Regions from separate parts of the Homo sapiens genome. Here region 2 is linked to region 1. The links are contacts of gene promoters, found by promoter capture Hi-C in human tissues and cell types (Jung and others, 2019). All regions are on one chromosome and are shown on one strand. The core of a region is centred on a gene start or on the middle of the fragment in contact, and the rest is flanking DNA. Distances in the headings are between cores, read along the strand shown.

What was found. Contacts are between HindIII fragments. The study calls those that stand out against the background at their distance.
Region 2: the fragment with the promoter of RPS15 here is called in contact with a fragment that was not itself captured in region 1 in 1 of the 25 tissues and cell types used here (dorsolateral prefrontal cortex).

What each region holds. Positions count from the first base shown.
Region 1 is chr19:1,637,199-1,643,018 of GRCh38, forward strand. The region is part of intron 3 of TCF3 (transcription factor 3); the gene reads right to left. Among named protein-coding and RNA genes, the nearest start is that of TCF3, 13 kb to the right of the region's middle. The HindIII fragment of the contact is 9,192 bases long and covers 1-5,820 here.
Region 2 is chr19:1,434,123-1,439,645 of GRCh38, forward strand. RPS15 (ribosomal protein S15) reads left to right here and starts at 4,274. Exons shown (of 4, transcript NM_001018.5): 1 at 4,274-4,306; 2 at 4,685-4,770. The coding sequence starts at 4,304. It overlaps DAZAP1 (DAZ associated protein 1), which reads left to right. Exons shown (of 12, transcript NM_018959.4): 12 at 615-1,562. The coding sequence ends at 790. RefSeq lists enhancers at 139-642, 4,019-4,889, 4,298-4,517. The HindIII fragment of the contact is 20,902 bases long and covers 1-5,523 here.

The DNA.
Region 1 (5,820 bases), core at 2,631-5,130:
GCCTCGCAACCTCCTCCACCAGAACCGAGGACGCCTGGCAACCTCCTCCACCAGAACCGAGGACGCCTGGCAACCTCCTCCACCAGAACCGGGGATGCCTGGCAACCTCCTCTACCAGAACCGAGGACAACCTCCTCCACCAGAACCAGGGACAACCTTCTCCCCCAGAAGCAGGGGCGCCTTGCAACCCCGCTCCCCCAAGGCCCTGGGGTTTCCCTGGAGGGCAGAGCTGGCCCCGAGAGTGGGCATCGAGCACAGATGTTAAGTAACAACTCAGAGAAACAGGGCCCCGCTTTGAATTTCAGTGACCACAGAGATAACCGAGACCCCATCCCGCTCTTGCTTCCATGTCTATGGGCATCACCAGTGACACCTGAGTGTGGGGACCGGAGAACCTGCCCCTCAAAACAAGCTCAGAAACCAACCCGGGGCCGGGCACGGTGGCTCACGCCTGTAATCCCAGCACTTTGGGAGGCCAAGGCGGGCGGATCACGAGGTCCAGAAATCAAGACCATGCTGGCCAACAGGGTGAAACCCCCGTCTCTACTAAAAATACAAAAATTAGCTGGGCGTGGTGGTGGGCACCTGTAGTACCAGCTACTCGGGAGGCTGAGGCAGGAGAATGGCGCGAACCCGGGAGGCAGAGCTTGCAGTGAGCCGAGATCGTGCCACTGCACTCCAGCCTGGGCAATAGAGCGAGACTCCACCTCAAAAAAAAAAGAAAAAGAAAAAGAGACACAAGAGGGAACCCAACATGGAACAAAAAGGATGAAGTTCAAGAAGTTCAATGATTTACCCTAAAAAACGAGAAGACTGTCTTAAGCCTGTAAGCCCCATGGATCCTCAAAGAAATGGCAGAGCCTGGGGGTTCTATGGAATGAAGTAGACAGTGAGCACATTTAATTACGAATCAAGAGATTCCTAGAAGCCGTAACAAGACAGGCACACAAGGAAAGCCCTCTGGGGGCACTTTGTGAGTTCTCTCTCATTTCACTGAATCCTTGCAGTGGCTACATTACCCCTACCCTACAGATAAGGAAACTGACGCAAAAGATAGATGCCATTTGCTCAAGCCCTCACAGTAAGTAGCAAAGTCACTATTTAATGATACAAATGTTTCCTAGTAAGATGCAAATACACAATTATGAACAGATACAATGTTTTTTTGTTTTTTTTGTTTGTTTGTTTGAGACTGAGTCTGGCTCTGTCGCCCAGGCTGGACTACAGGCGCCCACCACCGCGCCCGGCTAATTTTTTTGTATTTTTAACAGATACGGCATTTCACCGTGTTAACCAGGATGGTCTCGATCTCCTGACCTCATGATCCGCTGGCCTCGGACAATGTTTTTTAAAAGTAGCAATTTATTGGTAGCAAATACCAGCAGGGAAGAGAAATATACAGGCTCAATTTTCACCTTCTCACAGAAGGGGGCAGATGCGATTTCACTTCGGACGTTGAGAGCGCGAGAAACGGCGTGTTTAAACGTGTTCTTCACAACGCAGAATACTAACCGCTATTCAATCACGGCCTTAAACGTGTTATTCAAAACTAGAAAAGAACCACTGGCAGAGCCGCAAAGCGGTACAGAGCTTCAGAAAACACACACCGGGGGAAGCAATCCGGAGTTGGGAGCACACAGATGGAAAAACAAAATAAGACGATGGAAGGAAAAGCTGAGAACGAAGATGGACGGGTGCTTAACGTCTTTAATCTGAAAACACGGTGCCGACCAAAGACAGTTTTGAAACAAGCGACTCAGGAGATACAACCAGGAGCACAAAGATCTGCCAAGCCACACCAACAAAAAGGAAGGGTTGCAACCTTCATATCGAAGTTTCAATTCAAGGGAGGTTTCTTTTTCTGAGACAGAGTCTCGCTGTGTCGCCCAGGGTGGAGTGCGGTGGCGCGATCTCAGCTCACTGCAACCTCTGCCTCCCAGGTTCAAGTGATTCTCCTGCCTCAGCCTCCCGAGCAGCTGGGATTGCAGGCACCTGCTACCATGCCTGGCTAATTTTTTATATTTTAGTAGAGATGGAGTTTCGCCCTGTGGGCCAGGCTGGTCTTGAACTCCTGACCTCAGAAGATCCACCTGCCTTGGCCTCCCAAAGTGCTGGGATTACAGGCATGAGCCACCACCACCAGCCAAGGAACGGATTTTTTTGTTGTTGACAATGGCTCGACCCACAACGAAATCCCACTGTCTCAGCCCACACAAGCCCACAATCCTGGCATCTAAATACGTCAACAGAGAAACCGACAAACAGAACAGAGGGGGATGGCGCTGCTCTCAGCCTGACATTAAACAGATTAAAAATCTAAATATGGTTCAAAGGCCTCGCAGCTCCACATCCAACTATCCCTCAAGTACTCACAAAGAAGGACAAAAATAATCCATGTTTCAGCCTCGGCAGAGGAGCTCTGCGTCCTCCAAACAGTAGCTACCGTTTAAGCCAAAGCTGAGTTTTGGCACTGGAGATCTAGAAATCAAGAAAGGACCTCCAACTTGGAACTCAGAAACCTCTGAAGCAACCTGACCTGAAGAGGAAATTAGGAAAAAAAAAAAAAAAAAAAAAAAGGAACAAATGTCAGTAATATGAGAAAAACATGCATTATGGAAACCAATGGGATGGGGTTCACGGGGTGGAACCCTCAACACCACACTGATGGAACAGAAGAGGGCAGAAGTCAGCAAAAGGGGCCTGTGATCTGAAAGTCACCAAAAACTTTAGAAAGAGAAGAAATGCCGATAAAGAGGAAAATTGATCAATTGATCAATATCGATTTGCCAATGAAGCAGATTCTCCAGAAGAAAAATCAACGAGAGAGAGAAAATGCACAGGGCAGCCGAGTCAAGAACAAAGAAACCACCTAAAAGTTGGCGCATTGAGGACCGCGGCGCCCTCAGCCTCCCTGCGCAGGTGGAAAGACAGGCGCCTCCAAACGTTATCAAAGAGCCGAACGGGGCCAGGCGCAGAGGGTCAGGCCTGGAATCCCAGCACTTTTGGCACGGGTGGACAGACAGGCGCCTACAAACATTATCAAACAGCCAAATGAGGCCGGGCTCGGTGGCTCATGCCTGTAATCCCAGCACTTTGGGAGGCCGAGGCGGGAGGATCACCAGGTCAGGAGACCGAGACTGTCCTGGCTAACACGGTGAAACCCTGCCTCTACTAAAAATACAAAAAATTAGCGCAATGGTTACTAAACTCTCTAAGTTTCAGCTTCTTTACCAGTAAAATACGGTAATAATTACACCTATTTCGCTAACCTGTTAGAACTGAGAATTCCCAGTGAATAAGCCAAGCTTTGTGTCCAATGCACAGTGCTCAAGAAACACTGATGTAAGCAGTGGCTCACACCTGTAATCCCAGCACTTCGGGAGGCCGAGGCGGGCGGATCACAAGGTCAGGAGATGGAGACCATCCTGGCTAACAAGGTGAAACCCCGTCTCTACTAAAAATACAAAAACTTAGCCGGCACCTGTAGTCCCAGCTACTAGGGAGGCTAGGCAGGAGAATGGCGTGAACCTGGGAGGCGGAGCTTGCAGTGAGCTGAGATCACGCCACTGCACCCCAGCCTGGGTGACAGAGCATGACTCCGTCTCAAAAAAAAAAAAAAAGTGATGTAAATTGTTGTATTACTGATGTTGTTAAAAAGTTAATGAGGCGGCCAGGCGCGGTGGTTCACGCCTGTAATCCCAGCACTTTGGGAGGCCGAGGTGGGTGGATCACTGGAGGTCAGGAGTTTGAGACCAGCCTGGCCAACGTGGCGAAACCATGTCTCTACTAAAACTACAAAAAATTAGCCAGGCATGGTGGCAGGCACCTATATTCCCAGCTACTCAGGAGGCTGAAGCAGGAGAATCGTTTGAACTCAGGAGGCGGAGGCGGAGGCGGAGGTTGCAGTGAGCTGAGATCGTGCCACTGCACTCCAGCCTGGGCAACAAGAGCAAAACTCGGTCTCAAAAAAAAAAAAAAAGTTAATGAGGCAGCAATAAAAAGAAAAAAAAAAGATACAGCCAACAGCTTGGCTGGATCTCCAGGGAATTATGCTAACGTAACAGAATAAAAGCTAATCTCAGAAGGTTGCAAACTATAGGATTCCATTTACACAAAATACTCAAAGTGAAAAATTGGGCTGGGCACAGTGGCTCACACATGTAATCACAGCACTCTGGGAGGCTGAGGTAAGAGGATCACTTGAGCTCATGAATACAAGATCAGCCTGGAGAACACAGCAAGACCCCATCTAGACAATATTTTTTTATTCTTCAGACACGGTCTCCCTCTGTCCCCGAGGCCAGAGTGCAGTGGCGCAATCTCAGCTAACTGCAACCTCCGCCTCCCAGGTTCAAGTGCTTTTCGTGTCTCAGCCTCCCGAGTAGCTGGGATGACAGGCACGCACCACCACGCCCAGCTAATTTTTGTATTTTTAGCAGAGACGGGGTTTCGCCACGTTGACTAGGCTGGTCTTGAACTCCTGGCCTCATGTGATCCACACACCCTGGCTTCCCAAAATGCTGGGATTATAGGTGTGAGCCACCGCACCCAGCTGAAATTTTTCTTTTTTTTTAAACAGAGACAGGGTTTCTCCATGTTGCCCAGGCTGGTCTTGAACTCCTGGGCTCCGGCAATTCTCCCATCTCAACCTCCCAAAGTGCTGGGGATTACCAGTGTGAGCCGCTGACCCAGCCCTCTACAAAATACATATTTTTTTAATTAGGTGGTCGCAGCTGCTCACAAGGCTGAGGTGGGAGGATCAGTTGAGCCCAGAACTTCAAGGCTACAGTCAGTTATGATCACACCACTGCACTCCAGTCTGGACAACAGAGTGAGACCTGGTCCCTAAAAAAAAAAAATCGTACAGATGAAGAACAGATTGGTGATTCCTGGGCTTAAAGAAGGTGCATGTCTCAAAACTGCACAGAACTACACACACACACACACACACACACACACACACACACGCACGCGTACACACACGCACGCAGACACAGACGCAGACACGCACACACGCGCAGACGCACAGACACGCACGCGCAGACGCACACACACGTGCGCACACACGCACGCACACGCACAGACGCGCACACGCACAGACACACACCCGCACGCACACACAGACACACACACGTGCGTGTAAAGCCGGTGGAATCTGATCAGGATCTGTGGACGGCACCAATGTCGGCTTCCTAGGTCTGACGCAGCACCACGGGTGGGCGGGACGGTACCCCTGGGGGTGGCTAGGTGAGAGGAGAACACTCTGCCACTTCCTGTGAATCCCGAAAGACTTCAGAATAAAAAGTGGATCAACTTCAAGGACGAGGGCCCAAGAGAGTAACAGAAAATTCACCAGAGAGCCATTCACAGGGTCAATCCCCTTCCGAGAAGACCACCGCCCTCTATTAAACAAGTGGCAGGTGAAAGGACACGATCTTTGTCACCTATTAAATGAGACAGGCCGTGCTGTCACCACGTTGGCCAGGCTGGTCTCGAACACCTAGTCCCAGGTACTCCTCTTGCCTTGGCCTCCCAAGTGCTGGGATTACAGGCCTGAGCCACCGCGCCCGGTCACAAGGGACGCTTTCAATGTGAAAAAGCATCCAGGGACCCAGCAATTCCACTCCCAGACACGCACCCGGAGGAAATGACCCATGCGCCAGGTTCTCCCGGGGTTTCCTCTTAAAGCAGAACGCGGAGGTGCCGTTCTGTGGATTTTCACTCTGACCGTGTGTCACACTTACAATCGCACGGACAGAGAAAGCGACGGGGAAATGAAAAATAGGAAAGAACTTTCCTTTGGTCCGTCAATAAGCAATT
Region 2 (5,523 bases), core at 3,024-5,523, 200 kb before region 1:
ACACCGCTGTCCATGCTCCTGAGGTCGGCTGTGTGGGCCGGACGGGCTGCAGGGTGTGCTGGCCCCTCAGCCAGTGGTGTCACTGGGGCAGTCAGGTTGGGCCCAGAAACCCTTCCCTGACACGTGCCACCGATGGACGTGCCCTGACAGGAAGGACAACGTGGGGTCTGGTCTGCGACGGAGGGGCAGGCCCTGTATCGCTGCAAGGGCCCGTCAGGGGTTTTCTGAAACTCCGAGAGCCAGCTTTCTAGAAGCCTGGTCCACCGTGCCTTGGGCCATGTGTGTCTCCAAGCCCCGAGGCTTCTCTACCTCCCCTCACCCCCCCAACCACGTCTTCGGGATTGAACAGGGAAGCGGTGAGGTTACGTGGGCCATGGAGGGCTCTGGAAGCCGCTTTTCTCTGTGTGTGCCCCTGCTCACATGTTTTTGAGGGAGAGAACATGCCCGGGGTCCTCTCCCCGGCCCAGGTGCTGGCCTCAGAAGGGCCCCACCCGCACCCCGTGGGACCCGTGGACTCAAGGCAGGCTCGGCGGAGCTGTGTCCAGGTGGCCTCGCTCGACGGCAGTGCCAACCGCCCAGGGACCGCCCCGAGCTCACAGGACTTTCTCCCCCAGCAGGTTACGGGCAGGACTTGAGTGGCTTCGGACAGGGCTTCTCAGACCCCAGCCAGCAGCCTCCTTCCTACGGGGGTCCCTCCGTGCCAGGGTCGGGGGGCCCCCCCGCCGGCGGCAGCGGCTTTGGACGAGGGCAGAACCACAACGTGCAAGGGTTCCACCCCTACCGACGCTAGCCCGCGGCGCCGCGACGTCTGCACGGCCCAGACCCAGGATTCCAAACTTGTGAACTCGTGACAATCACAAACTTGGCGGCAAAGTGGCGACTCAACCTTGGGGGGGGGGGCGGGGGGAGGGCGCGAGGCTTTTGGAGCGGCTGTGGGTGTCGTCTGGACTGAGGTTTTTAAATATTTCTTTCTCTAACCCATCAGCACAATAAAAAAAAGTCACTGGTTCAACAACAGGGTTTAAAAAAAATGTCTTCAGCTTTAATTCAAAACTTCAGGTTTCTTTTTCTTCCTTTTTTTTGGAAATTATTTTCCTGAGCCTTTTGTTTTACGGTATATTGTAAACTTTTATGTTAAAGAAAAAATATACATTTACAAATTGTGAGATTTTTAAGAGAAATTTTCTACGATGTATACTGGCTTATTTTTTAATTTAAAACGGGGTTTCCGTCGGCACTGGTGGAGGGGGTGCGCTGTTAGTCCCCTCGCTCCTGGCTTTGGGGGTTGGGACTTGGTGGTCCAGAAACTCTGGGAGCTTCTAGAAGAAATCTACTGAGTGTATTTCTGTTTTTTGTTTAATTCCTTGCTTTTGTCGACTGACCTGCTTGGTAGTGTCTGAGGTGAACTGTGGGGGTTGCGCACAGCCAGCCGCGTGGATCCCACGCAGCGCTGAACCGAACCGAGTAGGAAGCCTTTCTCCCCAGGCACGTGGCTTCAGGGCGTTTCCCATTGACCAGTTTGACCCTGGTTTGAATAAAGAGAAGTGCGTTTGGATTAGAAACCACTTTGTGTCCGTTTTTTCCCTCCTTGGTCTTGGCCTGTGCCTACCCTTCCAGTGCCTAGGAAAGGTCTGAAACGCGACGGAGGCGCCCTCGCCCTCCCCTTGGCTCTTGGTGGTCTCAGCAACCCCGAGGGCTTCAGGGCAGAGGCTGAGTGGCGAGCTGGGCCCATCCCTCAGTGGGTCTTGGGATGCTGTGACTTTGAGGATGTGGCCACCACCAGTTTTCTCGGGGAATGTGGGCTCCAGGCTTTTCCCATCTCAAGACCTTTAATCATATCTTTTGCCATGGAAGGTGACATATCCCCAGGTTCTGGGGATTAGGACAGGGGCATCTTTGGAAAGGGATACTCTGTCACTGTGGCAGGGAAGGCGAGACTTAAAAAGGGCCGGGCGCGGTGGCTCACGACTGTAATCCCAGCACTTTGGGAGGCCGAGGCGGGCGGATCACCTGAGGTCGGGAGTTCGAGACCAGCCTGACCAACATGGAGAAACCCCGTCTCTACTAAAAATACAAAAATTAACCGGGTGTGGTGGTGCATGCCTGTAATCCCAGCTACTTGGGAGGCTGAGGCAGAAGAATCGCTTGAACCTGGGAGGCGGAGCTTGCAGTGAGCCGAGATTGCGCCATTGCACTCCAGCCTGGGCAACAAGAGCGAAACTCCGTCTCAAAAAACAAAACAAGAAAAAAAAAGGACCATGAAGTCCCAAACTGGAAGCCTACAGCGTGCCAGGCGTGAGACTGTTCAGGCGACAGCCAGAACCACCCCCCCCCGCCCCAGTTCATATTTTGGGGACAGGGAAGGTTTGACTTAGTTTGGAGAGAACCAAGAGAAGGGGTACCCCCAACATCCCTGTGCAGTGCAGTTTCCTCACTGAGACAGTACCCCTCAACGCCTCAGCCCAGGAAGCCAGCTCCATTCCCTGCCGTCAGAGCCTTCTCCCATGTCCTCAGGAGCTGCTGCCCCAGCTCCCAGGAGGGCCAGGCGGGGGCGGCTGTCTATCCACACCACAGGTCATCATGGTGTTGAGTGTCAGCCCCTCCCGTTACATTAGCTCCCCCAGCCAAAGAGCAGCACTCACAAAATCAGCTTTCCAGCCAGGACACTCTGCTGCAGGAAAATGGGTAACATGGACGGGCCCGACACATAGGTCCTGTGCTCCTCGGGACGGAGACTCAGCCCTCCCTGAGTACAGTGTAATTGGCTTCCCTTGGGACTGTGGGGACGGCTGGGGAGAGCTCAGCTCCCTGGACAGTGCCACAGCTAAGCTCGGGTTCCCAGAGGTTTTGTGCTTTTTTTTTTTCTTTTTCTTTTTTTTTTTTTTTTTTTTTTTTGAGAAGGAGTCTCTGTCGCCCAGGCTGGAGTGCAGTGGTGCGATCTCAGCTCACTGCAACCTCCGCCTCCCGGGTTCAAGCGGTTCTCCTGCCTCAGCCTCCCAAGGAGCTGGGATTACAGGCACCCACCACCACGCCTGGCTAATTTTTTGTATTTTTAGTAGAGTTAGGGTTGGTCAGCTTGGTCTTGAACTCTTGACCTCAGGTGATCCGCCCGCCTCGGCCTCCCAAAGTGCTGGAATTACAAGCATAAGCCACCACGCCCAGCCAGGTGCCACATCCATAGTTAATAGTCACCTTCAACTTTATACTTAATTCCAGTAAGATACAGAAACATCACTCCTAGGCCAGGCGCGGTGGCTCACGCCTGTAATCCCAGCACTTTGGGAGGCCAAAGCGGGTGGATCACCTGAGGTCAGGAGTTCGAGACCAACATGGCCTGGCCAACATGGAGAAACCGTGTCTTTACTAAAAATACAAAATTAGCCGGGCACGGTAACAGGTGCCTGTAATCCCAGCTACTTGGGAGGCTGAGGCAGGAGAATCGCTTGAACCCAGGAGGCAGAGGTTGCAGTGAGCCGAGATCACACCACTGCACTCCAGCCAGGGCAACAAGAGTGAAACTCTGTCTCAAAAAAAAAAAAAAGTCACTCCTACATAGTTCTAGTTACTCCTTCTCTTTGAGCTATCATTATTCACATTACATTTACATATCTTAACAAACCCAGTGATATTCCTAACTTTATTTTTGAGGCAGGGTCTTGCTCTGTCGCCCAGGCTGGAGTGCCGTTGGCGCGATCACGGCTCACTGCAGCCTTGACCTCCTGGGCTGAAGGCTCAGCCTCCCGAGTAGCTGGGAATTTTTTGTACTTTTTATTCTTTTATGTCCGTGTGTACACAAATTTTTGTATTTTTTTGTAGAGAGGCAGTCTCACTGTGTTGTCCTTACTAACTTTATATACAAAATTTTATCTGTTAAAGCCGGAATGGTTCTTTTCAGCGAGGCCCTGTCCCTGCTCCAGTATCTGTAATGAATTCTCGTGTTCCTCCCACAGTGGGACCTGAACCGCCAAACCGCACCTACGAGCAAACGGTAGGCGCTCCATAAATACTTGTTGATGTGGGTGCCATCGTGTAGATGACGGAGCACGAACCCGAGGCTCAGACAGGGGCGGCGACTTGTCCAAAGTCCCACTCCGTGGAGGAAGCGGCTCTGCAGACCTCAGGCGGCGGCTGCTCTAATCCCTGCAGCCTGTGTTTTGCCCTCCAGACGGCAGAGGGCGCGTGTTCGCCGCCGGGAAAGCGGAAGCGCGTGTGCGCGCACGGCCGAGGGGGCGGGACATGCCGGCAGTCTCGCGATAACTGCGCAGGCGCGGACCAAAGCGATCTCTTCTGAGGATCCGGCAAGATGGTGAGTGTTGCGATTTGGCGCGTCTCTGCCGGGCCTATCCGGCTCCATCCAACCTCTGACCGTCTCGCGGGGGCCGCAGTTCGTCCCCGCGGCTACGGCGGCTTGCTCCCGACCCTGCAGGCGGCTGGATGTTGGGGCGAGGGGCGGACTTGGTGGGTGTCGGGACGACGCGGGGCTGGGAAGGCCTGTCCGGGCCTTCATGTCCGGGTCCTCGTAACCCGGAGCCGCGAGTGATCCCCGGGGACGGGTCGAAGCGGTGTGTCCCTGTCGGGCTTCTGTCCCCGGCGGCGCCGCGCGTCTTCCGCGGTGTCCTCGGGCCCGGTGGCCCCGGGAGATGGGTGTCGGGATCCCGCTGACGCCCGATCCGCGCCCGCACAGGCAGAAGTAGAGCAGAAGAAGAAGCGGACCTTCCGCAAGTTCACCTACCGCGGCGTGGACCTCGACCAGCTGCTGGACATGTCCTAGTAAGGGCGGCCGCGGGGGTCGCGGGCAGGGGCTGGGCCAGCGGTGGGGCTTGTCCGGGTGAGGGCGGCGGGGCGGGGGTCCAAGCGCCTCTGCGGCGGTGGGCGGGCACGGTCTCCGCGCGGGTTTGGAACTGAGTGTGGTCTTGCGCCCAGAAAACTGTCCAGAGACGTTGAGGTTTTTGCTTATTTGCAACCTGCCCCCCGTTGTTCACTTTTCCGCGGCTTAGTTGGAAGGTGTAGCCCCTGTCTGTAGCCCACGTGACTTAGAATAAGGGGCTGCGTTAGACTCCTTAGATTTTAAGGGCGGTGGAGGTCGCTGGGTCCTTTCCAGGCAGGGTGGTGGTGGGCATCTGGCTTGCGCTTTTATTTTTTAATTTTTGATTATTTTGAGGCGGAGTCTCATCCTGTCGCCCAGGCTGGAGTGCAATGGCTCCGTCCCAGCTCACTGCAGCCTCCCACTCCCGGGTTCAAGCGATTCTCTTGCCTCAGCCTCTCGAGTAGCTGGGATTAGAGGGCCCCCCCACCACGTCCGGCTAATTTTTGTATTTTTAGTAGAGACGAGTTTCAGTGTTGCCCAGGCTGGTCTCAAACTCCTGACCTCAGGTGATCCACCTGCCTCGGCCTCCCAAAGTGCTGGGATTACAGGCGTGAACACCGCGCCCGACCTTGATTTTTGATTATTTGTGGAAACAGCGTTTCTCTGTGTCGTCCAGGTTGGTCTTGAACTCCTGGGCTCAAGCGACCCTCCCGCCT